3 separate regions of the Homo sapiens genome follow, and all the other regions are linked to region 1. Evidence: promoter capture Hi-C in human tissues and cell types (Jung and others, 2019). All regions are on one chromosome and are shown on one strand. The core of a region is centred on a gene start or on the middle of the fragment in contact, and the rest is flanking DNA. Distances in the headings are between cores, read along the strand shown. Region 1 holds the start of GJA3 (gap junction protein alpha 3). Region 2 has its middle 6.5 kb from the start of LINC01072. Region 3 overlaps ZMYM2 (zinc finger MYM-type containing 2).

Region 1 (3,314 bases), core at 219-2,718:
AACAAAAAAAAAAAAACTATTCCTGTGCTTCTCAGAGAAAATGTTTTAAATGAGAAAAATATTCAAGTATTTTAAGACCTTCAAAGGTAGCATTTTTCAATTAAAAATTAAAAACTAAGTCTCCGTAACTACTACCTACTCCATACATACACCGCAAAGTTCCCAAAGGGAGAAGATATTTTAGATGCGCCTTTAGGAGCTTAGTTTTTCCTCCTTGGGATAACTTTAAATTCAGATCTCAGCAGAACAAACGCATTTTTCAGGGCAAGCCAACTGCTAATCCGAGTAGATCTAAACGCTAACGAAGGCAGCCGACGGAAGCTGCTCCATGAAGACACGAAAACTATCAGACTTGCATTTTGCCACATTCCTGGAATAAACTTATTACTCATAAAGGTGATTTTGAAGCCATTTCAGCTTGTGGAATGATCACCGAAATGCAGTCCACCGATATTTGTTAATATCCCAGGCTGGTCAAACCCCACTCCAGACCTTGGGGGACGGGGAGGGGACCCGCGGCCTCTCTAGGCTGTGCCCAGACAGCAGACAAGGACGCGATGCCGCCCTCGGTCCGCGGCCTTCCGCGGTAGGCGTCCCTCTCAAGCGTGGTAAAACCACCCCGAAGGGAACAGAAAACGTTAAAATCTTCGTTGGGCGCCAGCAGGCAGGTTAGGCCTCGCCCTGGCATCTCGTCTCCAGGACCAGATGGAGCGAGTGACCCGCGGGGACACCTTCCCGGTCACCTCGAGCGCAATAAAACAAGTTCTTTTTTTAAAAATAAGCATCCGTGTGCCTGCCGGCTAAATTAAGTGTGTCTGAAGAGAAGCAGGATGGCGGCCGCTATTTATAACCTCCCGCCCCGCCCGGGCGCCACTCCTCGACAGCACCCACGCTGTGCCCGGCGGCGCTTCCGCGGGGACTTCCTGCTCGGTGGTCCCCGCCCCGCCCCGCGCCAGCCGTCCGGAACCCGCGTCCCCAGGCGGCTGCAGGCGGGCGAGACCTAGGTGCCCGACGCCCACGCGCCTCCGACCGTGGGAGCGCCCGGAGAGCAGCTACCTCGCCGGGCCTGCGAAGCCCAGGACAGGCGCGAGCGGGGCGCGGGCTGGCGCATCTGCGTGCGGTGGGCGCCCCGCAAGCGGGTCGGGCCCGCCCCAACAGCCCTCGGCTCTCCTCTCACGTCCCGCGCGGGCATGCCCCGGAGTGCGTAGGCGGCAGGGAAGAGCCCCCGCGTCCACATCCCCAGGGCCCGCGCAGGTGCGGGATGGGGATGCAGGCGCTAGGCATGGACGTGCGCGCGGGGTAGGGTGTGGAATGCGGACGCGGGCGAGTGCTGTGGCTGCGCGTACAGGGTAGGGATGCGGGGGCGGTAGGTGTGCGTGCTGGGAAGCGCGCGGGGCGGGGCTGTTCGGAGGCGGCGGGGGCGTGGCGCGGCGTCCTGAGCTGCAGCTTGGGGGCGTCGGGCGCAGCGCACACTGGGGCTGCAGGGATGGCGATCAGGGCGGGGAGGTCGGGCCCTGGCGCGGGGCGCACGCGTGAAGCAGCACCGCACGTGTGAAAGGAATTCTTTTCAGAGCGGCCGGGAGCCCTGCTCCGGAGGAACGCACCCGGGTCGCCGCCGCGGCAGAGCGGGGTAAGGCGGGCCGGGCGCCCCGGAGGCCAGGCACAGGGGCCGAGGGCAGCGCGGGGCGGGGACGGGCGGGTCGGCGGCGCAGCGGAGCTGCCGGGCGAGCCCAGCGGGCTGAGACTGCCGAGCTGGGAAGCCGAGCCCCGGCACGTGTGCGGCTCCCAGCCCCCTAGGATTCTTTCAGGATTCTTCAAAAAGTTGTGGGGAGCTCGGGAAATTTGTGAGAAACTTTTGGAATAATTGATCTTCCTCCTTTGCTCCTGGAGGTCTGGAGAGCAGCGCCTCGTTTGGCTTCCCTTGATGGACAGTCCAAGGCCGAGTTTAAGTTGTTTTCCTGGGGTTGTTTTCCCCCTCGGGTGGAGGAAGCCGGGCTGTCCCGGACCGTCAGGCTGTAGGGCTCCTAGCGATGCTGAAATGCTTGAAAACTCTAAGCAGATGTCACCGCGCCAGCTAACGGCGCGCACCCAGCCGTCCACGGGCATTCAGCATCGCCGTGCTCCTAAAAGTCCTGTTGGGATTGTTTAGAAACAAGGTTGGCTCGCCTACATTTTTTTCAGAAACTTTTTAAAACTTTTTATTTTTAAGAAACACTGTAGCTATTAATGCCACGACCAGATTTCTCGACCTGTATGTTTGTTATGATGTGTTCAACTATAAGGAATTTGCAGAGGAGTGGAAAAGCACTGTCCGAGCCCCTTCCCGTAGGAGACTTGAGAAAACAAACGGCAGTGACGCGGCTGCATTTGCTTTGTTGCCGACTCCACACTAGTGAGCAAAATTCATCCTACCATGTAGAGTTCTCGGTTCGTGAATATGTGACTGCAACTTTAGAACTCCAGTTTTTATTTTATCAAGATGTCTCCAAAACATGCCATTTAAAAATGATTCTATACAAACAGCTGACAAGCGAATTATGGGTCTCATCACCCAGGAATTAAAAACCATGGTGATTTATGATGTGCGCATCACTTCACTGGCGGTCCATCCATGTGCAAGACAAACATTAAAAGATTAAAGAGGAAAAAAGAGGGATTTATTTTCCGAATATCAGTGTGTTCAAAGTAAACATCAGCTAGTTTGGCACAGATTCCACCTGCTCAGCAGTTTGGTTCATATCGAGATAAGCATCTCATAAGGGCAATGCATGTGTTGCTGTAGTGGAAAGTAATTCACGAAACGGTACTACTCTAACAAATCAGACAGTACTGTTTCTTAACCAGGAACCGTTAACTGGCTGAAAGCTGTCTTAAAAGAATGGCGGGTAACAAAATTTTTTGCCAATAAGGAAAATATTTTTGACCCAGTTTTCTTGAATGTTACTCACATTTTAACTTATTATATTCATTTCTCTTAGCTAAAATAACGTGTACACACTACATTTGAAACGAAAAATTACGTTTATCGCAGCCTTTTTTTTTTTTTTTTTTTTTTTTTTTTTTGAGATGGAGTCTCGCTCTGTCACCCAGGCTGGAGTGCAGTGGTGCGATCTCGGCTCACTGCAACCTCCCGAGTAGCTGGGACTACAGGCGTCTACCACCATGCCTTCTTCCTCCCTCCGCTGGATGGTAGCTATTCCCAGTACTATGTAGTACTTACATTTTGATCTGTTTTTTGCCACTCTGCCTCTCTCATAGATTGCAAATGAATCTCCTGAGAGTGAGGACTGGATCTTAATTGTTTTGCTGTCCTC
Region 2 (3,235 bases), core at 54-2,553, 64 kb after region 1:
AAGACTTTTTGGCGTTCTGGGGCATAAATTGCTAGCTTTTGGTTAGCTTTCCTTTTTACCGAAACGTATTTTGACTTTCTAAGCAGTGTGGCGATTAGGCACACAGACTTGGAGCCCAGACTGCCTGTTGGAACCCTCGTTTCATTTGCTAGCTGATGAGTGTGGGCAAGTTATTTGAACTCTGTGCCTCAGTGTCTCCATATGTAAAACGGGGATAATAACACACTACTCTGTAATAGCTTATGGCAGGGGTCAGCACACCACAGCCATCAGTGCAAATCTGGCCCATGGCCTGTTTATGTATGGCCTATGAGCTAAGAATGGTTTTCACATTTTAAACGGTTGTAAAGCATGCAAAAAAACTCATAAAAGAACATGCAACAAAATGTTAGTAAGAGGTGAAGCCAGCTGGGCTTCTGGGTCGGGTGGGGACTTGGAGAACTTTCGTGTCTAGCTGAAGGATTGTAAATGTACCAATCAGCATCTGTGTCTAGCTAAAGGATTGTAACTGCACCAATCAGCAGTCTGTAAAATGGACCAATCAGCACTCTGTAAAGTGGACCAGTCAGCACTCTGCAAAATGGACCAATCAGTGCTCTGTAAAATGGACCAATCAGCAGGACATGGGCAGAGCCAAATAAGGGAATAAAAGCTGGCCACCCCCCCCCACCCACCGCCCACCTGCCTGCCCCCCCACCCCCACCCCCACCCGCCGCAACTTCTCGGGTCCATTTCCATGGTGTGGAATCATAGTTCTTTTCCTCTTCACAATAAATCTTACTGGTGCTTACCCTTTGGGTCCTTACTACCTTTATGAGCTGTAACACGCACCACCAGGGTCTAGGGCTTCACTCCTGAAGTCAGCGAGACTGCGAACTCACCGGAAAGAAGAAACTCCGGACACATCTGAACATTTGAAGGCATAAACTCGGATGCGCCACCTTTAAGAGCTGTAACACTAACCACGAGGTCTGCGGCTTCATTCTTGAAGTCAGCGAGACCAAAAACCCACCAGAAGGAATTCGGGGCACATTAGGAAGCTCACAAAGCCTCAAATAGTTACTCTCTGGCCCTTAATAGAAAGGTTTTCTGCCCTTTGGCTTACAGGGTAGTTGTACTAACTGAGTTAATACAGCTAAAACACTAGAACAAAATAAGGTCATTATTCATCTATTCCCGAAGTTGGAGATATACAGTCAATACATGTAGTAGAGTTTTCAGTGTATTGGTGGCTTTTAAAGCCGTTGAGACTACCTAAGAACCCCAAAGATTTAAGTTAGATAAGAGGCTCAAGAACTGAGCTCTGGACATCCTGACTTTAAAAGGTTAGGGGCTAAGGATGGTATTAGCAAAGAATACTGAGAAGAGCCATATGAAGTAGGAGAAAAATCAGGAGACCATAGAATACAGGCAACTAAGTTTAAAAATATGTTTCATAAAGGAAGTCATGCGCTGCAGTTTAAAATGCTAAGTAATACGATGATTAAGAATTACCTATGGGGCGGGGCATGGTGGTTCACTCCTGTAAGCCCAGCACTTTGGGAGGCTGAGGTAGGAGGATTGCTGGAGCTCAGGAGTTCAAGACCAGCCTGGGAAACATGGTGAAACCCCTTTTCTACAAAAAATACAAAAATTAGCCAAGCATGGTGGAGTGCACCTGTTAGTCCTAGCTACTCAGAAGGCTGAGGCAGGAGGATCGCTTGAGTCTCGGAGGTCCAGGCTGCGCACTACTGCACTCCAGCCTGGGTGAGTGACACAGCAAAACACTGTCTCAAAAAACAACAAAAAAAGAATTACCCACTGGATTTAACATGGAGGTCATGAGTGGCATTTGTAAGAGTAGTCAGTGGGATTTGGGACAAAAACCTTCTTGATATCTGAGAGAAAACAGGAATTACCATAAGGCTAGACAACTTTTGAGGAATTCTGCTCTAAAGGAAAGCAAAGAAATGAAGTGGAGGGAAGTAGAGTTAAAAAAGGGTTGTTTTAAAGATGATCAGATCAACAGCAGCTTTTGTGCTAAAGCGAACAATCAGTATGCTTGCAGGTGGGTAGAAGTGATGGTGGGATCAATGGAAGTCTCTTTTGATTGCTTTAAAATTGTACTTAGGCTGGGCACGGTGGCTCACGCCTGTAATCCCAGCACTTTGGGAAGCCGAGGAAGGCCGATCAGTTGAGGTCACGAGGTCAAGACCAGCCTGGCCAACATGGTGAAACCCTGTCTCTACTAAAAATACAAAAATTAGCCAGGCGTGGTGACACGTGCCTGTCATCCCAGCTACTCAGGACACTGAGGCATGAGAATTGCTTGAACCCCGGAGGCAGAAGTTGCAGCGAGCCGAGATTGCGCCACTACACCCCAACCAGGGCGACAGAGCAAGACTCAGTCTCAAAAATAAATAAATAAAATTGCATTTAAAAGAAATTGAAGTAGAAAGCAAGGTTAGCAACTTAAGTAGGAATTGGCAAGCTTCAGACTGCAGACCAAGTCTTACCTACGACCCATTTCTACGAGGCACACTAGCTAAGGATGGTTTATGCATTTTTTAATGGAGACATTTTAAAAAATATTTTGTGGCATGTAACATTCAAATATTTCCATGAATAAGGCTGTATTAAAACACAGGCACACTTTTTCACTTATTTATGGCCTTTGGTGGCTATTTTGCTACAAGGACAAGGCTGAGGAGCTATGACGGAGCAGCCTGTGGCACTCTCACCTCTGTGCTGCTGCTTAGCCCACTGCAGTGAGGGCTTCACATCACTGTTTCCAGTGTCATGCACATTGCCACACCAACAACTTATTTTCACAGTGCGAACTCACCATGTCAAAGCAATTAAAGTGTTCTCTGGGTGTCCCACTGTTAATGCACAGTGGAGTTGGATTCTGCTATTGAATTAGCTGGTTTTGTGTTTCTTGTGAAATGACATGATAGCGATGCTAAAGAACAGTGTCCATCAACATGACCAGACTGAGCCCTCCTCACGGTATGTCCAACTCACAGGAGAGCAGCGGTCAGAAAAATTAGAAAATTTAAAACAGAACCTCTCATTCCAGTACAATTTCCTCAAAAAATAAAAAATTCAAATGAGGCTGCAACCAAAGTAAGTTTCCAGCGGCTCATTTGTTAGCCAAACAAGGAAAACCGCTTCCCAATAGTAATTAAATTGCATTTGATTGCAGCAGCCAAAGAAATGTATCCAGAGAAAATAAGCTTGTTTAAGAATACTGGCC
Region 3 (3,495 bases), core at 493-2,992, 110 kb after region 1:
TTATGCTCAAAGAAAAGACAAAGCATAAAGGAAGGAAATGGAAGCTTAATACTTTATTCACTGATTCCGAACAATGCAGGAACCAAAAGTAGAGTTACAGCCTGACTACCTTGTTCACTGAGAACCTGAAATAAAAGCCAAACCCATTGTATCTACTCTCTATAAACCTTCACAACAGCCCTGCAAAATGGGTACTGCAAACTAAGATCTAGAAAGATTAAATGACTTGACTAAGGTCAAATATTAAAAATGCAGAGATAGGATTCAAAAGGCAGACAACCAATTCAAAACCTAGGCTTTAGCCTGTACCCTAAGCAATAAAGACAAAATGAGTTACTATAAATGAGCAGAGAATAAATACCCTAACACAATACAAATAAAATGCTACAAGAAGATTCTCAATTTAACATTTAAAACAGAAATCTGTATTAATTCAAATCATTACATGTACTATGCTGACTCTTAGTAGTAGTATTTCCGTTTATACAATAATTTGGAAGATCAAGGGCATAAAATTAAACACATTCCACCTCAAGAATTTGAACAATGGAATCACTTCATCGTTCTACAATTAGACACTTGGTTTTTATAGAATCAACACTTGAAGCTCCCTTCTTCTTTTAAAGGTTCAAAACAAATTTAGATAATTTCCCTCTACCCAAAGAAAAAAGGGGCAAGATTAATACCAATTTACAAATGTAAACAAAATAGGCATGTATTTTTTCAGCATGAAAAAACAGTAAGTGAGAACTCAATACTAATAATTCCAACTTTAATGCCATAATCAAAATTTTGGAGGTTGTGAACTTTTGTTTCTTTGACATCCACTCATGCAAACTCCTAGTGAAGTGTTTGGAATTCAGCTAAAATATGGTGGCCAATTTAAAAAGATCATTAATGACCATCATTCCTTACCAACACCAACACAACTCCACTCTAAGCCGCATTCCCTAGCCATTTGCAAAAAAGAACTATTAAGACATCATAAAAAATGAAATAAATGGGACACAAGTCTCTGGTTTTAAAAATACTGCATCATCTATTTTGTGGTTTTCTTGTCATTGTGAAATCAAGGATAGCAAACTAAGAGGGAGGGGGAAAAAAAAAAAAAAACAAGTCACAGGTTCAAACAAATCTAAGTAACAGCCAGGTACTAAACTCTGACTCAAAAACCTTAATCCAACCTATCAGCTAAACAGAAATTTCATTTTCAATAACTGGCAAAAGGTCATTCAGCCTATCCTGACCCAGTCCCTTTCATGTCTTGGATAGTTTCAACTTTTCATTTTTGACTGATATATACATCTTTTTAAACTTTCCTATCCATTTGCTCCCTATTTCACCAAACAAACCTAATTTTCCAGGGGAGAACCATGAATACGAAAAAGATAGGGGTATTTTACAGACATTTTAAGCAGAAATCCTTTATGACTTCTCAATACAGCTTTCTGAGCACAATGGAGTGATTCGCTACAAATTTTTTTTAAAAAAGAATGCAGGGATAAAAGGTGATTGGGTACTATGCAAAGCATAGGAATTCTCCGGTGACCAAAAATATATATTTAAGGCAATATTTGAATATTAAATATTATTTTCCTAAAAATAATTTCAAAAAAATTTTAAAAAAAATGGATATAGCTGTTTATAAAGAAAAATTATACAAGTCTAATATTATTAATTTAAAGCCCATAAATCATACTGTTAAGACTATTAGAGGGCATTTGTATTAAGAATTTAATATTGCCACCATTCATTACTTCTTTGGAAAACAAATCAAAGCCTGTGTTAAAAAACTGTGCAATCGAAAAGTAATACAGTTTAAGAAAAGCTCAGGTCTTAATAGAGATACTCTTGGGAAACAGTGGACCTTTTGAAATATTATCTTTACCAATTTATCAAACACCTTCTAGCTATTATTGTATTACAATACTAAATTCTTTTTCTTAAAAACTTTTAAACTTACAAAGATCAAAAGAACTATCAGGTTTTTCATTACGCCTGGAAACATTTACTTGAGGAAAAGTAAAATCTACTTCTTTCTAAAAAGGTATCTGGGAGAAGAAAAATACGTTAATTTTATTTTCAGCATTTTTTGGTTGCATGATGTCACAGATTTCTTATTCCAATTTAGAAGAGAAAGAATTTAATAAATCTCTATTTTAAATCTAGAAGCAAACCATGATATAGACCAGAAAACACAGCTCATTCAGTGTCTTGTCAAGTAAAACAATTTTTAAAGCATAAAACTAAATTTAAATAAACAAAAAAGTAGAAGTTATTTATACTATAGGTAGTTGTCTCTCAATCTAAAGTGCAAAGGTAAGAGAAGGTAAAAATACAATGTGTGTGTACTACCATTTAAGAAATGTTCATGGCTAAACATGAAATAATAGCCAGATTGGCTAGCTGTTGATTTTTAAGTTTCTGTGATGAAGCACTTTTTTTCCTTTGGCTTGAAGCTTATTTTTCTGATAAGCCGGAATGATTTGTAAGGGTCATAGGTTTTAATGTACTAATATATAAACTTGTGAGTATTTAAATAAAAAAAGATAAACCATAAAAGGGGGGGACCCCATAATTAGTTTACCACATTTTCAAGATGATACCATGGCAACAGTGAATAGAAGGAATGCATGGGGGGGTATAAGAAAATACAGTCTGACTCAAGTAGAAAGCACAGAGAATAAAGTTACCATTTGATTACAATAATGGCTGCAGGCAGCAAAACCAAGGATGAATGAAGAGAGACAACTCTTCACACTTCAAAGATTGTGCTGCATATTGATCGTACAGAAACATCAGCATTGCTACTTGCTTTATAAATTTCTACCATCTAACAAAAATATTCTTACCTTTATTCCTCAGATTAGTATAATATATAACCTATTATGTATATTATACAAAGATCTGTTTAAAATAAGGCATGAATATATAATGTATTTAAGGTACAGAATACTGACATTAAACATAACTAGATGATTGTAACCCGGTATTTGACTAAAGTATTTCTTGTATATTCTGAAATGCACTGCTTCATTAAATCCTCATCACTGAATTCTGCATAAATGAAAACAGAAATAACTATCTTTTAAAAAACATAGCAAGGTGGAACACACGACATCTACAATAACATGGTCTTTTGTCAAAGAACGTACCTTTGCTTCCCAAAAAAAGGGAAACAAATCCCAAACTTCCCTATTCTTTAATATATATATACACACACACACATATATACATATATACACACATATATATACACACATATACATATGTACACATATATATACACATATATATACACATATATATACACACACACACACACACACACACACATATATATATATATATATTTTTTTTTTTAGAGACAAAGTCTTACTGTGTCCCCCAGGCCAGAGTGCAGTGGTGTGATCAGAGCTCACTGTCACCTCAAAAACCTGAACTCAAGTGATCCTTCCACTTCAGCCTCCCAAGGAGCCAGGACTACAGGCATGC

The links. The method cuts DNA at HindIII sites, captures the fragments that hold promoters and counts their contacts. A contact is called where the count stands out against the background at its distance.
Region 2: a contact is called between a fragment that was not itself captured here and the fragment with the promoter of GJA3 in region 1, in 7 of the 25 tissues and cell types used here (IMR-90 fibroblasts, aorta, hippocampus and 4 more).
Region 3: a fragment that was not itself captured here is called in contact with the fragment with the promoter of GJA3 in region 1 in 2 of the 25 tissues and cell types used here (aorta and stomach).

The regions. Positions count from the first base shown.
Region 1 is chr13:20,159,206-20,162,519 of GRCh38, reverse strand. GJA3 (gap junction protein alpha 3) reads left to right here and starts at 1,468. Exons shown (of 2, transcript NM_021954.4): 1 at 1,468-1,630. RefSeq lists silencers at 818-1,177, 1,408-1,487, 1,648-1,737. The HindIII fragment of the contact is 27,118 bases long and covers 1-3,314 here.
Region 2 is chr13:20,094,631-20,097,865 of GRCh38, reverse strand. No RefSeq gene overlaps it. Among named protein-coding and RNA genes, the nearest start is that of LINC01072, 6.5 kb to the left of the region's middle. The HindIII fragment of the contact is 4,460 bases long and covers 1-3,235 here.
Region 3 is chr13:20,046,423-20,049,917 of GRCh38, reverse strand. The region is part of intron 12 of ZMYM2 (zinc finger MYM-type containing 2); the gene reads right to left. Among named protein-coding and RNA genes, the nearest start is that of LINC01072, 55 kb to the left of the region's middle. The HindIII fragment of the contact is 4,455 bases long and covers 1-3,495 here.